Linked DNA regions of Homo sapiens: all the other regions are linked to region 3. Evidence: promoter capture Hi-C in human tissues and cell types (Jung and others, 2019). All regions are on one chromosome and are shown on one strand. Each heading gives the region's core, a stretch centred on a gene start or on the middle of the fragment in contact. The rest is flanking DNA. Distances are from core to core; before and after follow the strand shown.

Region 1 (3,257 bases), core at 232-2,731, 64 kb after region 3:
GGCAGGAGAATCACTTGAACCCAGTATGTGGAGGTTGCAGTGAGCCGAGATTGTGCTACTGCACTCCAGTCTGGATGACAGAGTGAGACTCTATCTAAAATAAAATAAAATAAAATAAAATGAACTAAAGTGATCTTTTTTATGTTGGATATTTAATATATAAAGTGATTTAACTTACGGCAAAGTATTTCTCTTTTTTTCAAGACAGGGTCTCACTATTTTGCCCAGGCTGGTCTCAAACTCCTGGCCCCAAGAGATCCTCCCACCTCAGCCCACCAGAGTGCTGAGATTACAGATGTGAGCCATCGTACTTGGCCAAAGATTTCAAATTTAAGAAACACCAAATACATACATACATATATACACAAACACAAACACACACATACTTACAATTGTGTCAGAGTTAAGAATTTGTCTCATAAATTCTAAAAATGAAGATGCAAGCTCTCCTGTGTCCTTACTAAATGTGCTGACCACTCGTTTCAGTAAACTATGCAGAGCACTACTGTTTTTCCTTAAAGAACTGTAAATAAAGAAAATAAAGAGAAGATATTATCTTAAAATATGAGCATATAAAACTGGTATGATAAATGAACTCACTTCAGACAGAATAAAACTTACTCCATCATTTTTAAAAATGCTAAGAAGTACTTTGGTGTGTCTTTGTACACAAATATAACAAAGAACCGTCAATAGTTACCAACTCCTTTTAAAGCTAAGCTTCAAGATCTTAAAAAAAAATTCCCCCAAATAATCATTTTATAAAATTTAACACAAGAGGCTGGGTGTGGTGGCTCACGCCTGTAATCCGGGCGCTTTGGGAGGCCGAAGGTGGTGGATCACTTGAGGTCAGGAGTTTAAGAGCAGCCTGGCCAACATAGGGTAACCCGGTCTCTACTAAAAAAAAATACAAAAATTAACGGGGGGTGGCAGCACACACCTGCAATCCCAGCTACTCGGGAGGAGGTGAGGCAGAAGAATCACTTAAACGATTGGGAGGCAGAGGTTGCAGCGAGCCGAAATCACGCCACTGCACTCCAGCTTGAAGGACAGAGTGAGGCTTCATCTCAAAAAAAAAAAAAAAAAAAAAACTTAACACAGAAAACTTGCCAGTTCCCTATTTATAAACCTTTTGGCCAGGCGCGGTGGCTCACACCTGTAACCCCAGCACTTTGGGAGGTCGAGGCGGGCAGATCACGAGGTCAGGAGATCAAGACCATCCTGGCTAACACAGTAAAATCCCGTCTCTACTAAAAATATAAAAAATTTGCCAGGCGTAGTGGTGCACGCCTGTAATCCCAGCTACTGGGGAGGCTGAGGCAGGAGAATCACTTGAACCCAGGAGACGGAGGTTGCAGTGAGCCGAGATTGTGCCACTGCACTAGGCCTGGGCAACAACAAAGAGAAATAGATTAAATTCAAAAATAAAAATGTTAATGGAAAAAGCATGGGTTCAAAATTGGACTACACCCATTACTAACCACTACACACAATCTTTAAGTGAGTCATACTTCCGTGGTCTATCAAAAGCTGGGGACCTATTAGAATGCCTAACATTTAAAAACTTGCAATACCAAGTTCTGGGGAGGATGAGGAGCAACTGGGGCTCTAATACACTGCTAGTGGGAATGAAAAATGGTATCTCTACTTTGGAAAACAGTTCGGTAGTTTCTTTTTTTTTTTTTTTTTTGAGACGGAGTCTCCGGTAGTTTCTTTTAAGGTTAAACACACACACCTATCATACAACCCAGTAACCCCACTCCTAAGTGTCTACCCAAGAGAAATGAAAACTGAGATTCACACAAAAACCTGTGTGCAAAGCTTTATTCATAACCACCAAAATTTGAAAACAACCCAGATTGCTAGAAAATTAGTCACCGATAAGAACTACATGACTCTAAGCATCTGTCAAAACACATAGAACTGTACACCATAAAACATAAATTTGACTAGATATAATTTTTTAAAAAATCAACAAGGGGTTGGGCGCAGTGGCTCATGACTGTAATCCCAGCACTTTGGGAGGCCGAGGCAGGTGGATCACGAAGTCAGGAGTTCGAGACCAGCCTGGCCAACATAGTGAAACCCTGTCTCCACTAAAAAAACAAAATATATACAAAAAATTAGCCAGGCATGGTGGCAGGCGCCTGTAATCCCAGCTACTCGGGAGGCTGAGGCAGGAGAATCACTTGAACCCAGGAGGCGCAGGTTGCAGTGAGCCGAGATCGCACCATTGCACTCCAGCCCAGGGGACAGTGCGAGATTCCATCTCAAAAAAAAAAAAAAAAAAAAAACAACCAATAAGGATATGAGGGAAAAAATAAGAATGCAGACTATGACCAATGAATCTAACTATATTACAAATGAACCATATAACCAAACTGAAGGAGACAGGGAAGAAATAAGCTGACATAAATAACTGAAAAACAGTTTTTTGACTGGATACACTAAGGCTAAAGACAAAAAGAACCATATACAACACTGTACTCCGATTGCTCAATTTGTTTCCCACAGGAGTATGGTTTAGTAATGAGTTTGAGACTGCTACTTCATTTGTAAACTAGGGCTAAACAAATAAGCAAATATAGATAATGAGAGCTGAATTTCTCACTGTTAGAGAATAAAATAATCAAGAAAGGGAAAAGGCTAGAATTCACTTCTGGTACTGGATCAAAGTCAAAGTATTAGTATGGGCCAGGTGTGGTGGCTCACACCTATAATCCCAGCATTTTGGAAGGCAGAGACAGGTGGATCACTTGAGCCCAGGAGTTCGAGACCAGCCTGGGCACCAGCTGAAACCCCGGCTCTACAAAAGATACAAAAATTAGCCAGGCATGGTGGCTTGTGCCTGTAGTAGTACTTGGAAGGTTGAGGCAGTGCACGAAATTTCCATGCACTATTCAGTAGAATGTATATTCTGTGGTTGTTGGATGGAATGTTCTGTATCTAACTGTTAAGTCCGTTTGTTCCAAGGTATAGTTCAAATCTATTGTTTCTTTGTTGAGTTTCTATCTTGATGACCTCTCTAATGCTTTCAGTGGAGTATTGAGGTCCCCCACTATTATCGTGTTGCTGTCTATCTTATTTCTTAGGTCTATGATTAATTGTTTTATAAATTTCAAAGCTCCAGTGTTAGGTGCATATATGTTTAGGATTGTAATATTTTCCTATTGGACAAGGCCTTTTATTATTATATAATATCCCTCTTTGTCTTTTTTAAGTTGCATGAAATGTCTTTTTCATGCAAATGAAGGAGG
Region 2 (2,990 bases), core at 279-2,778, 38 kb after region 3:
GGAGAGTAGAAATGATGAAGGTCCTGTGAAGGAGATAGAGAAGGGGTAGTTCAACATACAGGACAATGACCAGAATCTTTGGGTTCGTCTGGGCTTTAAAGAGAGGTATGTGCAACCATCAAACGTCGAGGATGCAAGAATGTAAGTACACCAACTCTACCAAGAACCAGCAACGGTCTCTCCCTGCTGTTGCTGCTTGTCGACTTCCAACTACATTAGGTAGTAATTATTTCACTTCATGCCTTAAATTGCTCCTTTGAGACTCCGGCTATATAGATGGTTCCTAATTTAGGACGGTGTCACTTAGAATTCTTCGACTTTTAAGAAAGCCATGAGCATTCAGTAGAAACTGTACAAGTAACCACACAACCGTCTGTGTTCATGATTTTGCCCAACTGTAGATTAAGGTAAGTGTTCTGAGCATGTTTAAGGTAGGCTAGCGCAGCCATAAAAAGGAATGAAATCATGTCCTTTGCAGCAACATGGGTGCAGCTGGAGGCTATTATCCAAAGCGAATTAAAGCAGAAACAGAAAATCAAATATTGCATGTTCTCACTTATAAATGGGAGCTAAACATTGGGCATTCATGAACATAAAGATGGCAACAATAGACAGTGGAGACAACTAGAAGGGAGAGGAAAGGAGGAGCAAGGGTTCAAAAACTATTGGGTAACATGCTCACTACCTGGGTGACAGGATCAATCGTATCCAAACCTCAGCACCACGTAATATACCGATGCAACAAACCTGCACATGTACCCCCAAATCTAAAATAAACAGCTGAAAATAATTTTTTTGATAACAAAAGTAGGCTAGGCCAAGCTTTAATACTCAGTAGGTTAGCTGTGTTTTAAATCCATTTTCCATTTGGGATATTTTCAACCCCGTAGTAAGTCGAGAAGCATCTGTTCCTACCTAGAAAATCTTCCATAAGGTAATCGATTAAAAGGTTTTAAGGAAATACAAGAAAAACCTGACCAGTGAAGAGGTAAAAGCCCCTAAAGAAGGCGTACCGACACTCTCCAGGACGCTCGCAGAGCCTTCACCCCCTGGCCCTGGGGAAGGAAATTCCCAGTGCAGGAGTGAGGGAGAGACCCAAAAGCCAAGAGGAGCCTGCGCAAAGCGACCGCAGTGGCGGCCCCAGGGGCCACTGCCCAGAACCATCCCTCCCACACAAACGCACAACCCTAAACCCCCACCGCCCGCCCTTCGCTCCAAGGCCCCCGGGGCCAGCAACCAGGGCGTCCCTGGCACTTCAGACCAAAGCTGCAGGCCCGCAGAAGGCCACTTCGGTCGCTCCTGCCGCCTTCCCTCCCTCCTCCCTCGTTGGCCTGCTCCGGCGCCACTCCCTGCTTTGTCCCGCACGAGCCTACAGGCTGTCGCAGCCTCCCGAGCTTCCCCCTGCAGGACGCACCGGCGAAAATCTGACAGAAACCACTGGCCCTGCAAAGAAGTCCTTCTGGTAACCAGCTATCCCCTCGCCGCCGGAGAAGCTCAAGGATCCCGCCTCGGCGAAGCCAATCGCGGACGAGCCCGCCGCGCGTGCGCACTACCTAGCCGCTGCACTGCCCTGTCCTGCCCTACTCTGATTGGACGACCCTACTGCATCACTGCGCATGTATCTTTGCGTTTGGCTTTAAATGCTTCCAAGTTTGATTCAAGTTTACGGTTCAATTAAAAAAATACTGGTTTAGTGCCTACTTTCAGACACAGTGTAGATGCCGAGGCTACAGACCTCACCATCTGCGTGGATAAGTAATAAATACGGTATGATTCGGTGTGTGCGATAATAGAAATGCGTGCATCGCAGAAGTATACGATATCCTATTGGTTATTCATTCATCCGAAAAAACATTGACTTAGCGGTGCCTGCAGGATAATTTTCAAACTCTTTGTTAGGTTCTGGGAATATAGAAACGAATACGTGATTATTAGGCTCTCAGAAAAGGGGAGCCGCCTCCGGACTTGGAAAAGCATTAAAGCATGTTAAGTAGGAAAGTTACATCATTCAATGAGTATTTACTGAGCACCTTCTAAGTGCTAGGCGGTAACACAGTCAACTATCCCTGAAAAATGGTATTAGAAAGGCTAATCTGAAAGGAGAGAGAATGGCTAAAGGTTGTTTATTGAGTTTTATCCAGCAGTTTGACAAAAAGTAAAAGCTAAAAAATATCAAGGGTGAAATGAAGATGTGAAACAATGGGAACTCTTGGGCTGCTGGTAGGAGTGTAAATAGGTACAGCCATTTAAAAGAGTAATTTGAGGCTGAGAGCGGTGGCTTGTGCCTGTAATCCCAGTACTTTGGGAGGCCGAGGCGGGCGGATCACTTGAGGTCAGGAGTTCGAGACCAGCCTGGCCAACATGGTGAAACCCGGTCTGTACTAAAAATACAAAAATTAGCTGGTTTTGGTGGAGCGCGCCTGTAATCCCAGCTACTCAGCAGACTAAGGCGGGAGAATCGCTTGAACCTGGGAGGTGAAGGCTGCAATGAACCGAGATGGTGCCGCAGCACTCCAGCCTGGGCAGCAGAGAGACCCTGTTTCAAAAAAAAAGAGTAATGTGCTTAAGGAGCTTTTATCCTGGGGACTTTTTCCAGTCATAAAGAGCACCTCATAGGTTGAGTTGTGCTTTTGGCAGCTCCTGGAGCCAGCGTTACAAGAATTTGAAATGGGGACCTGCCAAGGTTGGGCACCTTAGTAAACCGCACCCCCCTCTTCTTTGGACTGGGACACATAAAGAGTAAGGGTAACCAGAAAACAAGCTAGCTTCATAGTGTCTGCAGCCTACCTTAATATCATCTGGGGAGTTCAGAAAATCTAAAACAGATTGGCTAAAGGTGACCTGGGACATTCCTCTTGCAGATTTGCATCTGGTTTGATCCTTCACTTCAGATCATTACTCACATATCAACTTGTCAAAGGGCTTTATCTGACAGTGCATTGCTCTCTTGTCTCATCTTGTATCTCCCTTACCCTGCTTTATAGAGTTCA
Region 3 (3,156 bases), core at 175-2,674:
TCCTCAAACTAACAAGGAGTTTACAATTTGTTTAAATTACCCTAAATGGTTCAGAATAAGAATGTAGCTGCCATTTTTATATTTTGCCAGAGGTTACAATCTGAATTAGTGGCAAGATAATACTTTTGAAAATTCCAAGGCAAATAGTTACATAGAAGACAAGTTTAACCAAAAAATTGCTTCTAACTCTAAAAAAACCCAGTTGCTCTTAGGGGTATTTTAAAATTCATAATTTGATATCCTTGCAAAGCAGTAAGAGAAAGCTTACTCTTTCCTATACGACCCAAGATCAAAGTGAAACTAGACTATTAAGGAATAAAAACAACAACAACAAAAAACTTTTAATTTTATTAAGTAAACTGAATCCCTAATTAGGCATTAACTCCCTTTAGTTGTGTTCATCTTTATTTTAAACGTGTTAGAAAAATAATTTAAACTGTCTTCATATACACAATCATGCCATTAACAAGTTTACTTATTGATTTTGTTTATATTTGTTAGTTAACATATATTCAATAAGTGTAGACAATGACAATTCATAAAAAAGCAAGGTTCCATTTCTCTAGAAACTGCTAACTTTATATAAATTTTATATAAAATTGAAAATTCCAGTGAAATGTAATCTTAAATGAGAAAAAAAGTATCTCTCAGAAGCAAACTAAATAATTTAATTTTAAAGCTTAAGAAGTTTATGAAGTGATGTCACAAATTTCAACCCACTTATTCCTCCCTAACCTTTACTTTTAGAAACTACAGGAGGGAAGGGGGAGGGGAAGACAGTAAAAAGTAGCTTAAATGCAACAGAAAAATTCCTCATAGCCTCACTTTTCTCTTTTTAAAAAATGCAAAACAAAGACACTATTCATTGCTCCCGTTGTGGGGATGCTTACTATGCATATCTCTATCACGACTAAGCCAAAGCCCAATAGATAGGAGGCGCCATAATTTTCCATAACAAAACAAAATAAAGCTTACCTTTGTATGTGGTTCCTGTCTCTTACCAGGCAAAAACTGGAAATCTGGGGAATCATCTCCATAACTTTCTTGGTTGGCTCAGAAATATTGCTTTTAAAATCTGATTGGGTCTCTTTTTGCTGCAATAGCTCCTGTTTGGCATATTCTTTGAGCCTTTTATAAAGGGTGCGTAGGCCCTGTGCTGTTCGAGGAGGGCGGTCTACTCCAATTGCATTATAGTTAACTGCTATGATATCCCAACATCTATTCTTTTCTACTATTACTGAATGTTTATTAGTGTGTTCTTCGAGAATTTTCACATATGGCTTCACAAGCTTTAGCAAATCAAGCTTTTCGGATAAGGTAAAATTGGAAGATCTAGCCTTTCCTACCATTGTTCTTTTCAAATTAAGTAGGCAGTTTCTGAAACCACCATGCAGCCTTCAGCTCTGCTCAGCTCTTTTCACAAACAGAAAAAGATCAGGCTTAACTAGGCTAGCCTCATTTAGGCCCACGCCTACAGGGGAGGGTTTATTAAAATTCCTCCAGCTTAAGCTGACGCAGGTTCAGGAAATCTGCTTAAGCCAAGCCTGACCTACATAAAGCTTCTCACTGAAGAAGACAGGAAGGCACAAGCAAAACACACTTGTGTATAAAGGGAACAGCTCGAGACAGGATTTAATACACAAAGGTCTAGAGATAAGCATGGAACACAGCTAAAAATTAGCTAATTTAGTGAGAATATCAAATTTCACACATGTATGCCTAGCTGACAGACTGAACTGCATTGCAGTATCACTTTAATAAAAACAAAAGAGGAACTGTTTTGTGCTATTTATTTACAAATCCAGTAGACAGAAAACTAAAAGATATGAGTAGTGAATGTAGTAATTCCTAACAGAGCCTCTCATCACTGTTTCTGAGCTGAGTGTTCTCCCTTACAAAATCTGCATAATGCTGGATCTGCTGTCAATCAGGAATTGCATATCCTCTAGCTAGTTAGGTTACACCCAGACCCAGACTCCACAGTAAAGCTAAGCTTCTCCTTCATTTTACAGTCTACATTAGCCTCTGCATATTTTTTTCACTTAAGAAAAAATTTTTATAGAACACTCAATCTAAAAAGCAGGTAAAAATCATGTTTTTAAAGCAATGGATTATTCTAGCCGTAATGTATGTGAATTTGCTAGCCTGCCTTATCATGTGTAAAAAATCACTGTTCATGGTGAGAAACAGTATAATCACGCCTTAAGACTCCACATACAAAATCACATTTGCTATTATAATAGAGCCAGATTTTTTATTTAGCTATATTCACACAGTTTGGACTATGAAAGGAAACAGCTAGTCTAGCCATTTTCAAGGCCACCAGTTTCGGTGCTTAGAATATATTTGTTAACCCCAGTATGAAAATATATGATACATAATAATGTAAGCAAGACAAACCTATTTTCTCACAATATACATATTTTTCCAGATAGGGGAATAAATTAGAACATACTTGAACATAGTTCTATCCAATAAAACTATTACTGAACAACTGTGATAGTTATTAAGAGGTAGGAAAAATAAATTGTTTTTAATTACTGACCACGTATATAAATGCTCCCAGGCACTGTGCAAGACCCAATGAAATCAAAAATGAATCTAGATACAGCACCTATCCAGGGAACTGTAGTTCCACAGAAATGCTATAAATTCTCAATTATCTTGTTTTTCATTCTTTTAACAATGGAGAAGCAAATTACATTTACTGAGCTCTCACTGTGAGCCAATGTGTTAAAAGCTTTAAGTGTATTATCTTTCAGAAAACAGTGAAAGATTGCTGGATGTTCTACGGAATGCTAGATGTTGTCTGGTATACGCTACTGAGTAATTTGATTCCATAATAGTTCTACCCTTTCATTGTCTTTGAGCAGTTTCACAGCTCTGTAAATTGTAGAAATCAGTAATGCAAATGATTCTTGTCCATAGAGATGCAAAAAGAAAATCGACCTGCCCCAACAACAACTGGACCACAGGTACTCAAAATCATTCTAGCATTTTCTGAGCTTTTGGAACATTAAAAGAGAACCAAAGAAAGAACATAGGGTATATACTTTATTTAGATAATTATTTTGTTATTTTCAGAAGAAATACAGGTATTACAGAACACAGGGTATATACTTTAGATAATTATTTTGTTATTTTCAGAAGAAATAC

What was found. Contacts are between HindIII fragments. The study calls those that stand out against the background at their distance.
Region 1: a fragment that was not itself captured here is called in contact with the fragment with the promoter of FSBP in region 3 in 1 of the 25 tissues and cell types used here (mesenchymal stem cells).
Region 2: the fragment with the promoter of RAD54B here is called in contact with the fragment with the promoter of FSBP in region 3 in 1 of the 25 tissues and cell types used here (mesenchymal stem cells).

What each region holds. Positions count from the first base shown.
Region 1 is chr8:94,498,984-94,502,240 of GRCh38, forward strand. It overlaps VIRMA (vir like m6A methyltransferase associated), which reads right to left. Exons shown (of 24, transcript NM_015496.5): 17 at 391-523. Among named protein-coding and RNA genes, the nearest start is that of RAD54B, 25 kb to the left of the region's middle. The HindIII fragment of the contact is 4,891 bases long and covers 1-3,257 here.
Region 2 is chr8:94,473,587-94,476,576 of GRCh38, forward strand. RAD54B (RAD54 homolog B) reads right to left here and starts at 1,529. Exons shown (of 15, transcript NM_012415.3): 1 at 1,415-1,529. RefSeq lists an enhancer at 1,262-1,491. The HindIII fragment of the contact is 13,618 bases long and covers 1-2,990 here.
Region 3 is chr8:94,435,520-94,438,675 of GRCh38, forward strand. FSBP (fibrinogen silencer binding protein) reads right to left here and starts at 1,425. Exons shown (of 2, transcript NM_001256141.2): 1 at 976-1,425. The coding sequence starts at 1,349. The region is part of intron 3 of RAD54B (RAD54 homolog B); the gene reads right to left. The HindIII fragment of the contact is 647 bases long and covers 1,130-1,776 here.